Regions from separate parts of the Homo sapiens genome. Here all the other regions are linked to region 2. Evidence: promoter capture Hi-C in 16 types of primary human blood cells and fetal thymus (Javierre and others, 2016). All regions are on one chromosome and are shown on one strand. Each heading gives the region's core, a stretch centred on a gene start or on the middle of the fragment in contact. The rest is flanking DNA. Distances are from core to core; before and after follow the strand shown.

Evidence for each region. The method cuts DNA at HindIII sites, captures the fragments that hold promoters and counts their contacts. A CHiCAGO score of 5 or more calls a contact.
Region 1: a contact is called between a fragment that was not itself captured here and the fragment with the promoter of PLPBP in region 2, in 1 of 17 cell types (naive CD8 T cells). The highest score is 5.2, in naive CD8 T cells.
Region 3: a contact is called between a fragment that was not itself captured here and the fragment with the promoter of PLPBP in region 2, in 1 of 17 cell types (naive CD4 T cells). The highest score is 6.6, in naive CD4 T cells.
Region 4: a contact is called between the fragment with the promoter of EIF4EBP1 here and the fragment with the promoter of PLPBP in region 2, in 7 of 17 cell types (monocytes, total B cells, activated CD4 T cells and 4 more). The highest score is 8.1, in monocytes.
Region 5: a fragment that was not itself captured here is called in contact with the fragment with the promoter of PLPBP in region 2 in 5 of 17 cell types (M1 macrophages, M2 macrophages, M0 macrophages and 2 more); the score reaches 7.8 in M1 macrophages.
Region 6: a contact is called between the fragment with the promoter of STAR here and the fragment with the promoter of PLPBP in region 2, in 1 of 17 cell types (erythroblasts). The highest score is 6.8, in erythroblasts.

The regions. Positions count from the first base shown.
Region 1 is chr8:38,237,883-38,240,737 of GRCh38, forward strand. DDHD2 (DDHD domain containing 2) reads left to right here. Exons shown (of 18, transcript NM_015214.3): 5 at 207-327; 6 at 2,393-2,482. Among named protein-coding and RNA genes, the nearest start is that of DDHD2, 7.7 kb to the left of the region's middle. The HindIII fragment of the contact is 2,409 bases long and covers 205-2,613 here.
Region 2 is chr8:37,761,256-37,764,231 of GRCh38, forward strand. PLPBP (pyridoxal phosphate binding protein) reads left to right here and starts at 1,390. Exons shown (of 8, transcript NM_007198.4): 1 at 1,390-1,503. The coding sequence starts at 1,405. LOC124901934 (a long non-coding RNA gene) reads right to left here and starts at 2,009. Exons shown (of 2, transcript XR_007060889.1): 1 at 1,672-2,009; 2 at 1-1,558. RefSeq lists enhancers at 939-1,018, 1,119-1,578, 1,156-1,450, 1,759-1,818 and a silencer at 1,078-1,398. The HindIII fragment of the contact is 3,991 bases long and covers 773-2,976 here.
Region 3 is chr8:38,082,366-38,085,405 of GRCh38, forward strand. No RefSeq gene overlaps it. Among named protein-coding and RNA genes, the nearest start is that of ASH2L, 22 kb to the right of the region's middle. The HindIII fragment of the contact is 1,106 bases long and covers 1,005-2,110 here.
Region 4 is chr8:38,029,194-38,031,951 of GRCh38, forward strand. EIF4EBP1 (eukaryotic translation initiation factor 4E binding protein 1) reads left to right here and starts at 1,341. Exons shown (of 3, transcript NM_004095.4): 1 at 1,341-1,525. The coding sequence starts at 1,381. RefSeq lists a silencer at 1,122-1,561 and enhancers at 1,138-1,432, 2,062-2,161. The HindIII fragment of the contact is 5,036 bases long and covers 508-2,758 here.
Region 5 is chr8:37,317,993-37,320,748 of GRCh38, forward strand. No RefSeq gene overlaps it. Among named protein-coding and RNA genes, the nearest start is that of LINC01605, 280 kb to the right of the region's middle. The HindIII fragment of the contact is 2,705 bases long and covers 108-2,756 here.
Region 6 is chr8:38,149,614-38,152,409 of GRCh38, forward strand. STAR (steroidogenic acute regulatory protein) reads right to left here and starts at 1,339. Exons shown (of 7, transcript NM_000349.3): 1 at 1,142-1,339. The coding sequence starts at 1,205. RefSeq lists enhancers at 1,178-1,477, 1,826-1,858 and a promoter at 1,312-2,627. The HindIII fragment of the contact is 1,310 bases long and covers 1,313-2,622 here.

The sequences.
Region 1 (2,855 bases), core at 159-2,658, 480 kb after region 2:
TTCCATGTAGAAAGGGACTATTGACAGATCTGTTAGCCTAATATATTTTCACGGTTCTCATTTCAAGCCATACGAGTTGTATATCAAAACTCCAGTTCAGATTTTACTGTGTGGTTTGAAAGACATGATTCTACACTTAAAACTGCATTGTATAGAGATGATTGTATTGCAGAATATTTTTATTGCTCTGATCTGTTCTGTTTAAGCTTATGGTGCATTACCAGCCAGTTGCAGGGTCTGATGATTGGGGTTCAACACCCACGGAGCAGGGTCGACCAAGAACTGTGAAGAGAGGAGTTGAGAACATCTCTGTTGACATTCATTGTGGTAATGTTAATCGTTTATTTTTTCTTACCTTTGGATGTATTTGTTTACTCCTTAAATTGTGACCTTTTTCTGTGGATTTAGATTACCTCAAGGCTTAAAAATCATCTTTAATCATATGGGTTTATTCCAAGTTGAGATTAGCATCACTTCGTCTACTAAGAATCTTAATAGATGTAAAAATATCTTTTAAAACATATGGTAGGATGGGTAAAATTTGGCAATACTATCCAGGAAGTCACTAAGTACAGATGAACTGATTTAGTCCTAATTCCAAGAAGTGTGATTCCACCTACTTGACTAGAAATTTATACCTGGTAATAACTCCTTGTCCTTGAAGATTTTCAACTAAGGAAAACTGTTTTTCAGCAGGACCTGATTATGCACTGCTATCTAGGTAGGGTCACTTATGGTTTTATAATATATTTAATTGGATTATAATATTCCTTTTTTCTTGTCTCTTGGACAAAATCCTAGCTTTACTGTAATTTAAAAAGATGAGTTTAAAATTTCAGGCTTTAAAAACATACCAAACATTGATAAAAATGAAATACTAGATAAAAGTATTTTATCAATGTTCAGTTGCCTGGATTCAATAACTGTATTATGGTTATGTAAGATAATATACTTAGGAAATACACATTATGGTATTAAAGGGTTAAAGAGGTATGGTGCATGCAACCTGATGATGTATGTAGTCTGCTTTCTAATGATTCAGAAAAATAAATGTGTGTGTGTGTGTGTGTACACACACAGAGAATCATAAAGCAAATGTAATTGTTAAAAAGTTGAATCTCTGTAAAAAGTATGTGGGAGTGTCTGTACTATGCTTTCTAGTTTTCTGTACATTTCTAGTTATTTAGAAATAAAAAGTTTTAAAAACCTGGCTGCACGTGGTAGCTCATGCCTGTAATCCCAGCACTTGGGGAGGCCAAGGTGGAAGGATCACTTGAGCCCAGGAGTTCGAGACCAGCCTGGGCAATATGGCGAAACCCTGTCTGTACAAAAAATACAAAAATTAACTGGGCATGGTAGCACACATCTGTAGTCTCAGCTATTTTGGAGGCTGAGGCAGGAGGATCACTCGAGCCCAGAAGGTTGAGGCTGGAATGAGTGTTTATCATGCCACTGCACTCCAGCCTAGGCGACAGAGTGAGACTCTGTCTCAAAAAAAAAAAAAAAAAAGTTTTTAAAACCTGAAAAAAGGCCAAGTGTGTTGGCTCACGGCTGTAATCCCAGCACTTTGGGAGGCTGAGGCGGGCGGGTCAGGAGGTCGAGACCATTCTGGCTAACACGGTGAAACACCCTGTCTCTACTAAAACTACAAAAAATTAGCCAGGTGTGGTGGCGTGTGCGTGTAGTCCCAACTACTCGGGAGGCTGAGGCAGGAGAATCGCTTAAACCCGGGAGGCAGAGGTTGCAGTGAGCCAAGATCGTGCCACTGCACTCCAGCCTGGGTGACAGAGCAAGACTCTGTCACAAACAAAAAAAAAACCATAATTTAAAAAAAAAAAAAAAAGAGTTTTTTTTTTTGGAGACAGAGTCTTGCTCTGTCACCCAGGCTGGAGTGCAGTGGTGTGATCTCGGCTCACTGCAACCTCTGCCACCTCCAGGGTTCAAGTGATTCTTCTGCCTCAGCCTCGCGAGTAGCTGGGATTACAGGCATGTGCCACCACACCCGGCTAATTTTGTATTTTTAGTAGAGATGAAGTTTCACCGTGTTGGTCAGGCTGGTCTCGAACTCCTGACCTCATGATCTACCTGCCTTGGCCTCCCAAAGTGCTGGGATTACAGCCGTGAGCCACCGCGCCCAGCCGAGTTTTCTTTTTCAGAGATCAGAAAAAAAAGAAAAAAGTCCTGAAAAAAATTTTACAGACTTATTTCAAGATAAATTAGAAACCAAGTAAAATCAGTGTATTTTTGCTAGGTACTTAAAGGACTATTTTGTATCTTTTAAATTATCTGTTCATCTTTTAACTTGCTCATATTTATAACCTTTTCATGATGAATGATATTAGAATACATGACTAATTATACAGAATAATTTTCTTTTTAATTTCATTTATAGGAGAACCTTTACAAATAGATCACTTGGTTTTTGTAGTCCATGGGATTGGACCAGCTTGTGATCTCCGCTTTCGAAGCATTGTACAGTGTGGTAGGTTTGCAAAGCATGTGAGAGAATATTAATCAGTGCTCTTGTGAGCTGAGATAAAGCCTTGTCTTTGGTCTATTGTCTTAGCTGCATAAGAAGATTTGGAGAGTTAAAGACAGGTGGCAAGGTAGTAAAGCTTCTCAGCTTAGACCTGAAGTGCTAGGAAATTCCTGAGTCTAATAGTTTATACTCTTAACTATTGTAATAGTCTCAAATGAACAAGCAGTTAATCCCTATAAAATTGTGTTTTATGATGTGGTGGTCCTATTTCTAACTATTTCAAATTTACAGGGAACCATAAAGATGATAGAGTTTAATGAATAACAGAAGCATCAATCATTTTTGTAATTCATACTGTGATAAACCTTTGATATTG
Region 2 (2,976 bases), core at 140-2,639:
GAATTAATGTTTGAGAAACTTTCAACAGAAATTGCAGCCAAGAGTGCTTTCCTTAACAAAATTGATCTCCTTCTCCTTGCCCGTAGCACCTACTATTTCACCACCTGACTATGTAGCATTCTGTATTATTATTTGTATGGCCTGGCTCCTCATCAAGTTTATAACCATATTGCCCACAGAAGGGGACTCAAGAATCAAACTCAGGGCGTTGTGGTGCCCGTTTGTAGTCCCAGCTATTCTGTGAGGCGGAGGTGGGAGGATTGCTTGGGCCCACGAGTCCCAGATAATCTGGGCAACATAGCGAGACCCCATCTCAAAAAAAGAATCTAACTGAATGTGCTGAGCTCCTGCTAGACCATCTAAAGCTGCCTGTGGGCTGGGCGCGGTGGCTCGCACCTGTAGTCCCAGCTACTGGGGAGGCTGAGGCAGGAGAATCGCTTGAACCCGGGAGGTGGAGGTTGCAGTGAGCCCAGATCGGGCCACCGCACTCCAGCCTGGGTGACAGAGCGAGACTGTCTCAATAATAATAATAGTAATAATCATGCTGCCTGTGTCCCCTGATGAGACAGCACTGGCCGCAGGTGGCCGCTAACCTCTCGAAATAGGGATGGCCCGAATTGAGACATATGCAAGTCAACACTACACCGGGTTTCAGAAACACATACGATTTTCAAAAGAATTAAAATATCGCATTTAGTTTTTCTATTGATTGCATGTTGAAATCTTACTTTGGATATATTGGATTAAATAAAGTATATCATTAAAATTTTTAAGCTTATGTGCCTATGAGAAACTTCCAAATTACACAGTTGGATGGCGTTATATTTCTCTTGGACAGCAGTGGTCTGAAAGATGACAAAAATCACGATACGTTTGAATCACGCCATGTCTTTAGGGAAAAGAAGAAAGAAGAGTTTCCTTTCGTATCGCTTAGGGGTTCCTCGCAAGAACCATCTGACAGAGAAAAGCCCTGGCTCCCGCCCCAGTGGCTTCTAATTCTGGTCCCCGCGCCCAGAAAGCCGGGAACGGGCAAGCCTGGAAAGGCGTTTTGAAAGGAAACAGGATCCCCCGAGTATAGGATGCGTTTCTGCCTCACAAAAGTCCCTTGGGGGTGGGGGGACGGCAGCGGCTGAGGCGCAGGAAAGAGGAGAGCACACGGGGAGTGGCCCTTGGAACCAGGCGCGCAAAACCTCAGCCCCTAGGCTCCATTTCCAGGTTCGCGGGTGACCTCCCCAAGATGGCCGCCGCCTGGGGGCGGGCCTCCACGCTGCACGGGTGTTGATTGGGTGAGACGACTCAATGATGAGCAATGATTGGTTCACACGGCGCAAGCTGGGCGGAACCGGAAGATGGTGTGAGCCACGGGCTGCCGGGGGCCTGGGGCTCGGCGTCGGTCCCCGGGGGATGTGGAGAGCTGGCAGCATGTCGGCCGAGCTGGGAGTCGGGTGCGCATTGCGGGCGGTGAACGAGCGCGTGCAGCAGGCTGTGGCGCGGCGGCCGCGGGTGAGGAAGGAGGCTGCGTGGGGACGGTGGGCGGCCGCCTTGAGAAGAGGGACACCTGCGTGGGAATGGGTCGTCACGGTGACGCAGAGGGGTCTCCCAGAGAGGCGGGACTGGTCGGCCGCCTAGGGCCACCGAAAGGCTAGCGAAGGGTTTCCCCAGCCTCCTTACCTTGAGTCTGTTAGGTTTTCTGGAGATTGGCTTCGTTGGAGCAGAGGGTACCGCTACCTCGGGAAAATGACTTAGTGCCTAGGTGTCGTGGCCACTTGCGCACCGCGTCGTTTCGGGGTCGATAGCCTTGGCGGATGCGAGGGGGGCCAGGCCTGTGCCCACGGATGGTAAGGGGAGACGGGGGTACAAGAGCACCCCGCGGAGGCCAGAGACGCCCGAGATCGCGTGTGTGGCAGCGTCTCACCTGCTAAGTGCCCAAGAAATGCCAGTGCCGCCCGGAGGCCGAGGTGAGGGTGGACTGGCCGGACTTCGCTGGCATCAGAGCGGCACTTGTTTATGGGGCAGGAGGGAGAAGTCCAATCCCAAGCCGGTTAAGGGGAGCTTTCGTCTTTTGTGTATATATATATTACATCCTCTTGGACTTTGATTAGACCAAGAATCAAAATCTGCCCACCTCAGTGCAAGTTTAAGCTGAATGGTGTGGAATGAGACGGACCTTAACAGAGAGGTCACAGGTTTCTCTGATCGAGCATTTATGCTGGCTGAAGACAAGACCTGTATTATAGTCTTTCTTTGACTATTCCTTAGACGTTACCTTGAACAAGTCAGGTAACTATTCCGGCCCTCAGCTCTGAAAGCTCTGAGATCTCTTCTGATGTTAATATTCTGTGATTCTCGGTGATTCTCCAAGAAAAATCTAGGGCTTCCCCTAATAAACATCACCTTGGAGGTTCTCTCAGGGAAACTCTCAGGCAGATGGGCTGCCTGTTCGGGTAACTCTCTGGAAAGCGTCAATCATCAGCATACTCCCAGTAGTCACGACTTGGACTCAAACGAGGCTGGTTACGCATCGCTGTGGAAGGAAGGAAGAGGAGACATTTTTCTAATTGATCTGACTCCGTCACGTCCTTGAGAACACTGTGATTCTGTGAAAACTTCAGGGGATGATGGATACAAGAAGACTAAATCGTGCAAGGATAAACGAATCTCTTCTCTTACTGTTTCTATGTGGATTGGGTGGCAGCAGAACGCATAGAACCCCCGCTCTTTGTATAGTGGTCGTGAGAGGATGTCACATAGGTCTGATCCTGAATCCAGAATTTTTTGTGTCGCAGCCTTAGTTCTGCCACTGGTTCTTTTCTTTCTTTTTTTTTTTTTTTTTGTTGTGTTGTTTTGTTTTGTTTTGTTTTGTTTGAGACAGAGTCTCGTTCTGTCGCCCAGGCTGGAGTGCAGTGGCACGATCTTGGCTCACCGCAACCTCCACCTCCCGGGTTCACGCAATTCTCCTGCCTCAGCCTCCTGAGT
Region 3 (3,040 bases), core at 308-2,807, 320 kb after region 2:
ATGTAGATTGATAAAGAGCACCACAGTCGTTTATCTCTTCCTGTGTAGGCACGTATTCTTCCTGGGGGACTGGTTGGTATTTTTGTAATGCCATTATTTTGGTGGTAGTTGTTCCGTCCACTATTGCTTTAATAGTAGACTGGATGCTTCTGATGAGGAGAGGTAAAAGACAAGGCAGTATTAGACATCCTCCTACTATAGCTATAAAAACAATTATCAAGGTTTTAAAGCCTTCCAAGCATGAGAACCATCCTCCAAAAAGTGAGTTTGGGCTCCACCAGGACCAAGTCTGGACTGGGACATGGGCTAACTTCCTCATTCTAGCAGTAATTTCCATAACAGCTCTTCTGTTATTATCGATTTGTAAGCAACAGTTGGTCAAATTAAGCTTGCCACAAACTCCTCCTTCTGAGGCTAGGAGGTAGTCTAATGCTAGCCTATTTTGGTATATAGCATCTCTCATTTGAGTGGCCTGTAAAGCTAACAGATCCAAGGCTTGGGGTGTTTCATTGACTATGACTTCTGTACTGCTTGCAATCTTATAATTCGGTTTAACATGTAAATAGGGGTGCGGTAGCCCCATGATCCATCTTGAGCCCATGTAGCTGGCCCATAGTATTTGATAATTTTTTCAGGAGGCCACTCATTATCCTTCCAGCTTCCTATCTCAATGTCCTTCTTTATGTTTGTGTTTATCTTTTCTACAGTACTTATCTGAATAAAGACGTTTCTTCTGGTCCTTTTCCCTTCTTCATTATAGACCAGGTAACTTAAATCTTCCCCTTGTTTCAGTGGGAGCAAGAAGAAGGACGGCCTTATTGTCTTTAACACACAGGCTCCAGTCCACTTCTCAGGCAATAGTTGATAGGCTTTTGTCCCACAGGTCCAATATAGTTCTGCCGGTGCTTTCTAAACATTTGGAGCATCTAGTTGATACCATGACTGATTTAGTGCTGGAAACTGAAAGAGAGGGTTAAAATCTGGTACAGAGGAATTGTCTATAAAGCTTCTCCACTGTGTCTTGTTCTTAGACTATTCAAAATATTGCTGACCTAAACAAGTTTTATCTCCTACTTGAGTTTGAAAGTCTTTTCCCCATGGTGCTATGCAGTATCTTCTAATGATAGGGGTTTTTAAGAGCCAGACGCTTGGGTTTGCATTGAACCTTGTAACAAATTCCAGTATGGTAAAGTTATCTTATGGCATTAGTTTTCTAGCCTCCCAGAGCCATTGGTCACCTATACTGGTACCTCCACATACATAACATGAGGTGACTCTGAGATTAGTAGCAATACTTTCAGCTAGCTGAGTGAGTAGGTTCTCAGCTGACATTGGTGGAATCTGAACTTTTGGCTCCCTGGGGTTAAAATGTTTACTGAAGGATTTGAAAAATCTGAACTGTGACATTGGACTGACTTGAGCTTCAGCTCGCTGAGTCTTTTTAATAATGATTAATTGAATACCTAGATTTACTTCTTCTCGAGCAAAGATTGCTCTCCTTGGTGTCCTTTAGTCCAAAAAGGCATGTTTGGCCTTAATATGGTCAGATTTAGGGGGTTGCATGTTTTAGTTGCACAACCAATCTTTGCTTCTTGGCTGGTTAGCAGAGCTACTCTCCCTGCATAAAGGCATTGGCTGAACTGATTTGTGGTCCATTGAATGTTACCATCAGGACATTCTTCTTCTAGTTCTCCTGTTATGATCTTAGCAGGCTTGCTACTGACTCTTTCTTGTCCTAAGTTCTTGCAGACTACTCCTAGATTGTTTAGGTTGCTGAGGTGTGCAGCCTGACAGGCATCAAAATATATAGAAATAGATCCTTTATGTGAATAAGAGAATACCTGCATTTTGCTTACGAGTTTCCCAGTTCTAACGTCTTTAGGATTGGCATATGAAGGTAATAAAGGTTTCCCTATTTTGAATTTAAAACCAGAAGTCATAGGGAAGGAGGCCTGGATTATAACATACTTGAGGTTGCCTATTTCCGTGTCACAGACGGAGTAGCTGGTTTGATTATAAACACATGTCCCCAAGGGAGTTCCTTTACAAACTTATTACACTCATAATAAGTTTGATATAACAGGGTTTTAGTTATACCTTTACCAGACCAAGCTTCTATCATACAATGATGACAATTATCTTGGTTTCCTCCCATGCCTGTTAACATTATTGTCATTAGTCTGATCAAGTTTATACTATGCACGGGCATCCTCCTGGGCAACAAGTTTGGTAGCAGTTGCAAAGATAGCATGACAGCAAGGCAATCAGTATAAGCAATAGTGTAACTACATTTGCAAATTCAGTCCACATTTACTCATCTAGTGCTGGCTTCCTCAGGCTTCGGCCGTGCATAGACTAGTCAGCTTCTGGTTGTGTGACTAGAGCAGGGCTTGATGTTTCCTTAAGCTTCAGCCTTGCGTAGACTAGTCAGCTTCCAGTTGTGTGACTAGAGCAGAGCTTGATGCTTCCTTAAGCTACAGCCGTGCGTTGACCGACCAGCCTCTGGTGTGGTCGTAGCAGGGCAGTTGTCTTTTCCTGCTGCGCCTTGGTTCCTCTGCAAGATCAGTCGAGTTGGATGATCTGGATCTTGCTGACTCGTCCATTGGTCTTGAACTGAGGCTGCAGGTTTTAGTTGACTGTGGTGGTGTAATACCTGCAACTTTAACAGCAGTAGGGGTAGACATGATCACAATATGGGGGCCATCCCATAAGGGCCCGAGGGTGGTAGGATTCCAGCATTTAACCCATACAGAGTCCCCACGTTGAAAAAGATGTATTGCATCTGTAAGGCTAACAGGTATTCTTTCTCTTACCCACCTTTGTACTTCTTGCATTACCTCACCTAATGCCTGCATTTATCTTCTTAGGGTCGGTTCTCCAATTTCCTTTCAATCTCCTTTTAACTGAGATATAAGTGGGGGTGGTGGGCCATACACTATCTCATAGGGTGGATACCTGGTTAATTTGTAGGGGTACACCTGACTCGGAGAAGGACCATGGGCAATACCTGGTCCCACCTTAAATGAGTCTCTTGGCAAAA
Region 4 (2,758 bases), core at 91-2,590, 270 kb after region 2:
AGCTGGTGGCTACTGTCTTAGCCACTGTAGGCCTAAAGTTTCCCTCAAAAGTGAGACCAAACTCAACAGGTCTCCCTATCTCAGGCCTTGCCCTCCTTGGCCCATTCTGAAACTCCACTGGCTACTAGTTATCCTTCCAAAAAACAACTCAAATCATGTCATCCCCCTGCTTAAAAGATCTCTGATATCTCCTGCCCTTCTAAGACAAAGTCCAAGCACTTTGGCATAATTTGAAAAACTCAACGACCTGACCCCAATTTCCTTTTTAAAAAATTATTATATATTTTTTTAGAGATAGGGTCTCTGTCACAAAGGGTGGAGTGCAGTGGTGTGATCACAGCTCACTGGAGCCTCAAACCCCTGGGCTCAAGCATCCTCCAGCCTCAGCTTCCTGAGTAGCTGGGATTACAGGTGCACCACCCAATTTCCCTTTTAAACTGCCCTCCCCTCTTCACCCTCTTCCCCACAATATGTGCCCATAATGCTAAGAACTTCTCAAACCCAACAAGCTTTTCCATCCTCGGTCCTTCTTGCATTTTTCTCTCTCCCCTTGAACATCCATCCATCCATCCATCCATCCATCCATCCATCCATCCATCCAAGGAGTACCTACTAAACCTCAGGTGGACGTTGGACTCAATTCAGGGGCTATCGGGAAACCTCTTCGACACTCTTACTCCTCTCCAACGCCCTTCCCCACCACCCACCTCTGCGCCCCCAGCTCTAAATTTAGCTCCCAGGACGCCGCTGGTTGGTTCACTCCTCCTCCCACACCCTCTCTAAAGGCCGGGAACGGAATTGTTAGCCCCTCCACCCCCACCCCCATCAAGGTCAAGAAATTGAAGCGGGGCGGGGGGCGGTGAGCATAACTACTCAATCCCCATTTTCTCATCTGAGGAACTAAGGCACGAAACAGGGAGTGCCGAAGGGTACACCAGGCCTGATGTCCTAATGCAGAAACCGGGCCTTCCTGCAGTGGGCCGGGTCAGCTCGGATCTCCGCGCGGTCCTGAGTCGCCGCCCCCAACCCAGCCAAGGATTAATTTAGGCGAGCTATCCCGCCCGCCATCCCCATATCCGTCCCTGCCAGCGTGGCGGGGAGGGACCCCGGACGGAGGGGCAGTCGCTGCGGGGCGGCGCCAGCGCCCGTGCGGAAGAGCCCGTGAGCAGACGGGAGTGGGTCGGGGGGCGGCGGGGGATCCCACGTGGAAGCAGCGTCCTGGAGCTGGGTGGGGCTGCGGCGCGGACTACAAATCCCAGGGGCGTGGGGCGGGAGAGGCGGAAGGGGCGTCCTGGGGCGGGGCGGCACGGGGCGAGGCGGAGCGAGGCTGGAGGCGCGGGAGGGCAGCGAGAGGTTCGCGGGTGCAGCGCACAGGAGACCATGTCCGGGGGCAGCAGCTGCAGCCAGACCCCAAGCCGGGCCATCCCCGCCACTCGCCGGGTGGTGCTCGGCGACGGCGTGCAGCTCCCGCCCGGGGACTACAGCACGACCCCCGGCGGCACGCTCTTCAGCACCACCCCGGGAGGTAGGCGCGGGCTTGGCGACGCCGCTTGCCGGCTCCTGGGCGGGCGGGAGGATCGGGAATCGCGGATTGGACCGGGTGTCCAGGCTCAAGGGCGCCGTGATTGGAAAGAACGGAAAAGGGGCATCGGAGAGACAGCGAGGGTCATGGAAGTGGCCGCCCGCTTCCCCTCTGAGTGCGTCTTCCAGACCCGAGTTACAAACTGCCCCGTTTGTTTCCTCTTTCTGTTAGGTGTCAGACAGCTGACACCTAACAAACACGCACGCCTCCAGGACAGCCACATGCCGAGCTGTGCTGCCCCTTGTGGGTGTTGGGGGCGCTCCCGAAGCGGGAGAGGGCGGAGTTAGGGTGGCCCACGATCCAGGAGAGGCCTGGCCTGGTGTTTTTATGGGATGGGTATTATCTGTTGGGATAAACGATTCCTGCAGGGCCCTTTTTCCTTCCCGAAGCACGCCGAGTTTTGTGTTGGACTCGCGCGCTCTGACTGAGGTTCGGATCTGGGGGTGCTTGCCTGCTCCAGCAGCGCCTCCCGGGCACCTGTGGCACGTTCCCCATTTACGCGAGTGGGATCTCCGCGGGGGGGACCCTGGCGCCACGGCCAGGGCTGTGCAGAAAAACACGTTCTTCTGTCCGGGGAGAGGAGGAGGCACCGTGTGACCTCCCTGGGAGAGGATGAGGAAGAGGAAGCTGAGCTGGCACGGGTGGGGGGGCCAGCCTCGGGCTGCCCTCAGGAACCTGGCATTCCCTCCCAGCCCCGGAGCCCCAGCGCACAGACGCTGATGAAACCTACGCGCCTGTTTGCATGATGAAATAAATCCTCGTGGCTCTCTCCTCCCCTCTCATTGTCGCACTGCCCCCACCCCTTTTTGCTCCTCTCCCTTCATTCTCCTCCACGCTGCTTTCCATACTACTAGAAAACGCGACAGATCCTGGCGCTTGGCTAGGTGGCGGGCGGGGGCCACATGCTTATTTTCTCAGGCAGCTGTCCCACCAGCAGCGAGCGCGGCCAGATCCGAGGTCCTCTGCTGTTTGATCCAAAACATACACTGTTAGAACGGTTAGGGATCTTGTCCAGCCCTGCCGTCTTATTCTACAGAGCCCGGCATTGAGGCCCCAGAGCTTGAACACGTGTCTGTTGCCCATTGTCACACCGTTTTCCCAGATTGGACAAGAAATAGCAACCAGGCAGAGAAGGGAGAAATGCTTCCTTTTCTATTAGAAATGAGCCAAGGAAAA
Region 5 (2,756 bases), core at 210-2,709, 440 kb before region 2:
TTTACCTCAAGCGAGGCACATGAGTATCCAACTCTCCATAAGGTTCCCAATGCAAGACTTTTTCTGTATCCCAGGTGGCAAGGCAGAGAAAGAAAATCCCCGAACCAAGCTTTCCCCAAAGGCCTGGTGGGGCTGGGAGGCAGAGACAGCCCAGGAAGAGGTCTTCACAGGGAAGTGGAGAGAGCAAAGGAGGAAGAAAAACAAACACAGTTTTAATTAAACACAGTGTATCTAAATCAGGGAGGTATGTTCAGAGAGCAAGGAAGGGTGAAATGGAATTTCTAGAAGAAAACAACTTTCTTCACCTTCTTAGTTTCATTAACATTGAAATGAACCCCCTGAGGAGCAGGAGCCAGGCCCTACTGCAGGGGAGGAGAGAAAGCTGCCCTGCGCCTCTATGGGGCTTTGTACTCTTTGGCACTGGATCCACCAACACAGGGCACCCCTCCTGGAGCCAGCTCTTGGGGGCATCTGCCCTGCCTGTGCATCTGGGGGATTCATTCTGGCCATAGGCAGCCGAGAAGTGGGACCTGTGTGGTGGGTGTCAGGGATGGGCAGGGACTCTTATCTGGGCCCATCCAGCTCCCTGCCTGGCTCTCCCCACTCCTTTGCAGAGCCATCCCCACTGCTGGGATGTTTGGGGTGCAGCAGGAATTGCCAGTCTCTGCAGCTCTCCTCTCCCCGGCTCAGGAAACTTGACTTCATGCTTGCCTGGAAACCCACCTTCCAGCCCTGCCCTCGCTGAGACCTGTGAGACGGAAGAGGTTCTAGGCCCACCTCAGGGTCTCAGCAGGTGAGTCTCACTTGCCGCTAATTTGGCCTCAAGTCTGATAGTTGAATGGCTCCCTAACCTCTGGCTGCTGGTCCCACCCTGCACCCAGTTCTTACCACAGTGCTTCTGTCTTCTTCCTTCTCTCTGTGCCAAAGCCTTGAAAAGTGTCCTGAGTCCCTTTCTCTCCTTTGTCACCACCCTCTAGTGCCCCCTGAACATCAGCCCTGAGACTGGCTCTTTGCCAGGAGAAGTACCCTGCCCCTTCTTCCTCATCCCAGTGCTTTTCACCACCTATTTGGAAACTATTATAACTGCCCAATGGGTTCTCCTTGCCCACTGCCCAGCTACGGCTGATTTATCAAGACAAGGGACTTGCAATAGAGAATGAGTTTAATACATAGAGCCAGCTAAACAGAAGACTGGAGTTTTATTATTACTCAAATCAGCCTCCTTGAAAATTCAGAGGCTAGGTCTTTTTAAAAATAGTTTGGCAGGCAGGGGCTAGGGAATGGGGAATACTGATTGGTTGGGTCAGGGATAAAATGATAGGGGATTGAAGCCATCCTCTTGCACTGAGCCAGTTCCTACGTGGGAGCCACAAGACCAGATGAGCCACTTTACCAGTCTGGGTGGTGCCAGCTGATGCATCAGAATGCAAGGTCTGGAAAATATCTCAAACACCAATCTTAGGTCTTAGAATAGTAATGTTAGCCATCAAAGCAACTGGGGAGGTTAGGAATGCTATGGCCTCTGACTGAATGACTCCTGAGCCATAATTTCTAATTTTGTGGCTAATATGTCAGTTTTACATAGTTCAGCCTATGTTCAGGAATGAACAAGGACAGCTTGGAAGTTAAAGGCAAGATGGAGTTGGTTAGGTCAGATCACCTTCACTGTCATAATGTTCTCACTGTTATCATCTTTGCAAAGGCAGTTTCACTATTTGTCATCTCTTGCTTTGGCATAATGCCTGACCCACAGTACAGGGTTAATAAATGTGTGTGAAGTGGATGGATGATTGGATAAGTGAACCTGACTGGGGACTTGGGAAGGCTTCAGGTAGAGCCAGCTTCGCGTACTTGAATGTCATCCTTAATCTGTGGCCTGCTAAGAGTCTCCAGTTTTTGTATGGATAATGCCCGGACTATGACAACTTGCCTTGAAACTCCCTCTATTAAACAACCAAAACACATTCATAGCTATTGTTGACCTAAAAGGAAGAATCTGAGGCCACATTAGTGTAAGTAGAAAGGTATTTGGGCCAAACTTGAAATTGCAACTCGGGAGCACAGAATCAAGTTGTCCTGAATATACACTTTGATTAGCAGCAGTTACAAGTGGATTTTTAAAGGCAAAACAGGGGACAAGGAGTGGATTGATACAAAGTTGTTCGTCAGGAATTCTCACTGGTTTACAGAAATAACATTGATTAGTGATTGGCTAGACATTGTTAAGCAATAGGTTGTGGCTGATAGTGTCTGGTGTGGCATTATGAGGTTAATTTATAGCCTGTAGTAATAGCAAGCAGTTTCAAGAGAAGAATACGTAGCTCAAGGGGGAAGTAGGATGTGATTGCTGTCTCATTTTAATATCTCTCTGGGCCTGCTAATTAAAAGGACTCCCATTCCTCAGATAAAAGTTCTTTTCTTTTCTCACCATCCAGTAAACAACCAGTCCCAATATTGATGCTCAATGAGACACTGGCCAGCTGGCTGGTAAAGTTTAGCAGCATCTCAACTGACTTGATCCGCTCTGCATTTAGAGCAGGGACTGGCCAGTGCAAAGAAGGAGGAGGAGGTGCTACTTTAACTACACTTCCCCCATTATTTGCGATTCAAAAACTTCCATTGAACAACCTCATTGAACTGGCCGTGCAAATTTCCTAAATATTTTCTAAATGAATGACCATAAATTTGAAAGCAAATTCAAGGTCCCTGGGGCAATGGAAAAAGTCTACAAGGAAAATCCACAAGGTAGAAGAGGG
Region 6 (2,796 bases), core at 89-2,588, 390 kb after region 2:
AGACTTTCCTGTGTACCCCTGCTACAAGACTTGTCCAGCTCTGAAGGAAGGCAAAGTCAGGAATAGTTCAAGAAAGATGGCCAGGCATGGTGGTGCACGCCTGTGGTCCCAGCCACTCAGGAGGCTGAGGCAGGAGAATTGCTTGAACCCAGGACGCAGAGGCTGCAGTGAGCCAAGATAGCGCCAGTGCACTCCAGCCTAGGCAACAGAGCGAGACTGCCTCAAAAATAAAATAGGCTGAGCGCCATGGCTCATGCCTATAATCCCAGCAGTTTGGGAGGCAGATCACCTGAGGTCAGGAGTTCAAGACCAGTCTGGTCGACGTGGCGAAACCCTGTCTCTACTAAAAATACAAAAACTAGCCAGGCGTGGTGGCATGCACCTGTAATCCCAGCTACCCAGGAGGCGGAGGTTGCAGTGAGCCGAGATCGTGCCACTGCGCTCCAGGCTGGGCAACAGAGTGAGACTCCATCTCAAAATAAAGTAAGCCAGGTGTGGCGGCTCACACCTGTAATCCCAGCACTTTGGGAGGCCAAGGTGGGAGAATCCCTTGAGCCCAGGGGGTCAAGACCAGCGTGACCAATATAGCAAGACATTGTCTCTAAAAAAAATAAAAATAAAAATAAATAAATAAAACTAGCTGGTTGTGGTGGTGCACGCCTGTAGTCCCAGGTACTCAAGAGGCTGAGGTGGGAGGATGGCTTGAGCCCATGAGTTTGAGGCTGCAGTGAGCTATGATTGTTCTACTGTACTCCAGCCTCTGTGACAGAGACCTTTATTCAAACAAAAAAAAAAGAAAAGGCGGAAGAAAAAAAGAACGAATGAAGGAAAAGGGGAAGGAAGAAAGGAAGAAAGAAAGGAAAGGAAGGAGGGAAGGAAGAAAGAAAAAGAATAAAAATGAAAGAAAAGGAGAAAAAAAGATTGGAGTCCTGGAGGGGAGACCAGAAATTATAGAATCTGGAAGGGATATATCTTAGTAACCAGCCCACTTCTTCCGAGGGGAAAACTGAGATTCAAGAAGGGAAGAAACTTGCCCAGGTTCACCCAGTAAGAGGCACAACTAGGATCAGAATTGGGTGGCCTGAGCCTCATCCGCTGAGAGCTGGCCAACCCCTCATCGCCTCCTTCCCGCAGCGCTCACCCTTCATGTTGCGCATGTGTCTGTAGGAGCTCCCAGCGCACAGCTTGAATGTCGCTAGCAGCATTGTTTCCTGGCAAATGTGGCAGTGGTGGGGTCGCTGCCGCTGCTGCTGCCGCCGCTGCTGCTGCCTCTTCTCTCAAGGGTGGTTCTTCGTCCTTCCTGAGCCCCTCAAGCTTCGCCTCTGAGTCCCGCAGCTGCAGCCTGGACCTGGTGTTCTGCGTCTTAAATGTCCCCCGCTGAAGGCTGTGCATCATCATCAGGAGATAAAAACGCCATCACTCACTGTGCAAAGGAAGGGGTCAAGGATAGAGCGATTGCCTCACACTGCTGCTTTGGCCGTTTGTGGGGAGCTTGGGGCGGGGGAGGGTGCAGGGGAGAGTAGGGAGGACAGGGCCAGGCGAGGGATGGAGGGGAGAGAAGCAGGGGCAGCTTAGATGAAGGCACACAGTGGTTTTCAAGACTTTAAAGTGCAGATTTCTAGCCCTTGTCTTCAGAAACTCCAGGCTCAGCTGATCTGGAATTGAGGCTCAGAAACCTGTGTTAAAAAAAAAAAAAAAAAAAAAAAAAAAAAAAAAAAAGAAGGAAAAGAAAAGAAAAAAGAAAAAAAGAAAAGAAAAAAACTTCCCTTGGCCAGGCGCGGTGGCTTACGCCTGTAACCCCAGCACTTTGGGAGGCCGAGGTGGGCAGATCACTTGAGGTCAGGCGTTCGAGACCAGCATGGCCAACATGGTGAAACCTCATCTCTACTAAAAATACAAAAAATTAGCCGGGTGATGTGGCAGGCACCTGTAGTCCCAGCTACTCGGGAGGCTGAGGCATGAGAATCACTTGAACCCAGGAGGCAGAGGTTGCAGTAAGCCAAGATCGTGCCACTGCACTCCATCCTGGGCGACAGAGTGAGACTCCGTCATAAATAAATAAATTAAATAAATAAATAAATAAATACCCAGTGGTTGCAATGCAGGTGTTGTGTGGACTACACACTACACTTTGAGAACCACCGTCTCGCGAGAGTGAGCCAGGGTGTTTACCAGGCAGTAGAGACCATATGGCTGCTCTTCTTCTGGGTGAGGACCCTGAAGTCCACAGAGTGGAACTGACTTGTTCAAGGTCAAACAGCTGGCCAGTGGCAGGGCCAGGACAACAACCCAAGCCTCTGGCCTTCAAGCCATCTGTACACAGTTCCTCCTGCGGTCCCCAGGACGCTTGGTATATTCAACTGTCAATTTATTTACTCATCTATTTATAGAAACCACCTTTCCCAAAGTCCTGTTCCGAGTGAGGGTTCTTAGGGGTCTGTGCTGGAGCAAGGATGACCTCTCGTGGCTGAGTCGCGGGGGGGCGGGGGGGGGCGGGGCAGCCCTATCAGTATACGGCAGAGAGAAGAGGAGGGCCTGGGCCACGCCCACACCCTTCCTCACACTTTCCCGCCAGTAGCTTTGTCTGAGTGAGCTGGGCTGGGGGTCTTGGTATGTGCAGAAAGCTTGAAAAGACAGGGCATGGGCTGGGCACAGTGGCTCATGCCTGTAATCCCAGCACTTTGGGAGGCTGAGGCGGGCAAATCACAAGGTCAGGAGTTTGAGACCAGCCTGACCAACATGGTGAAACCTCGTCTCTACTGACAATACAAAAATTAGCCGGGAGTGGTAGCGTAT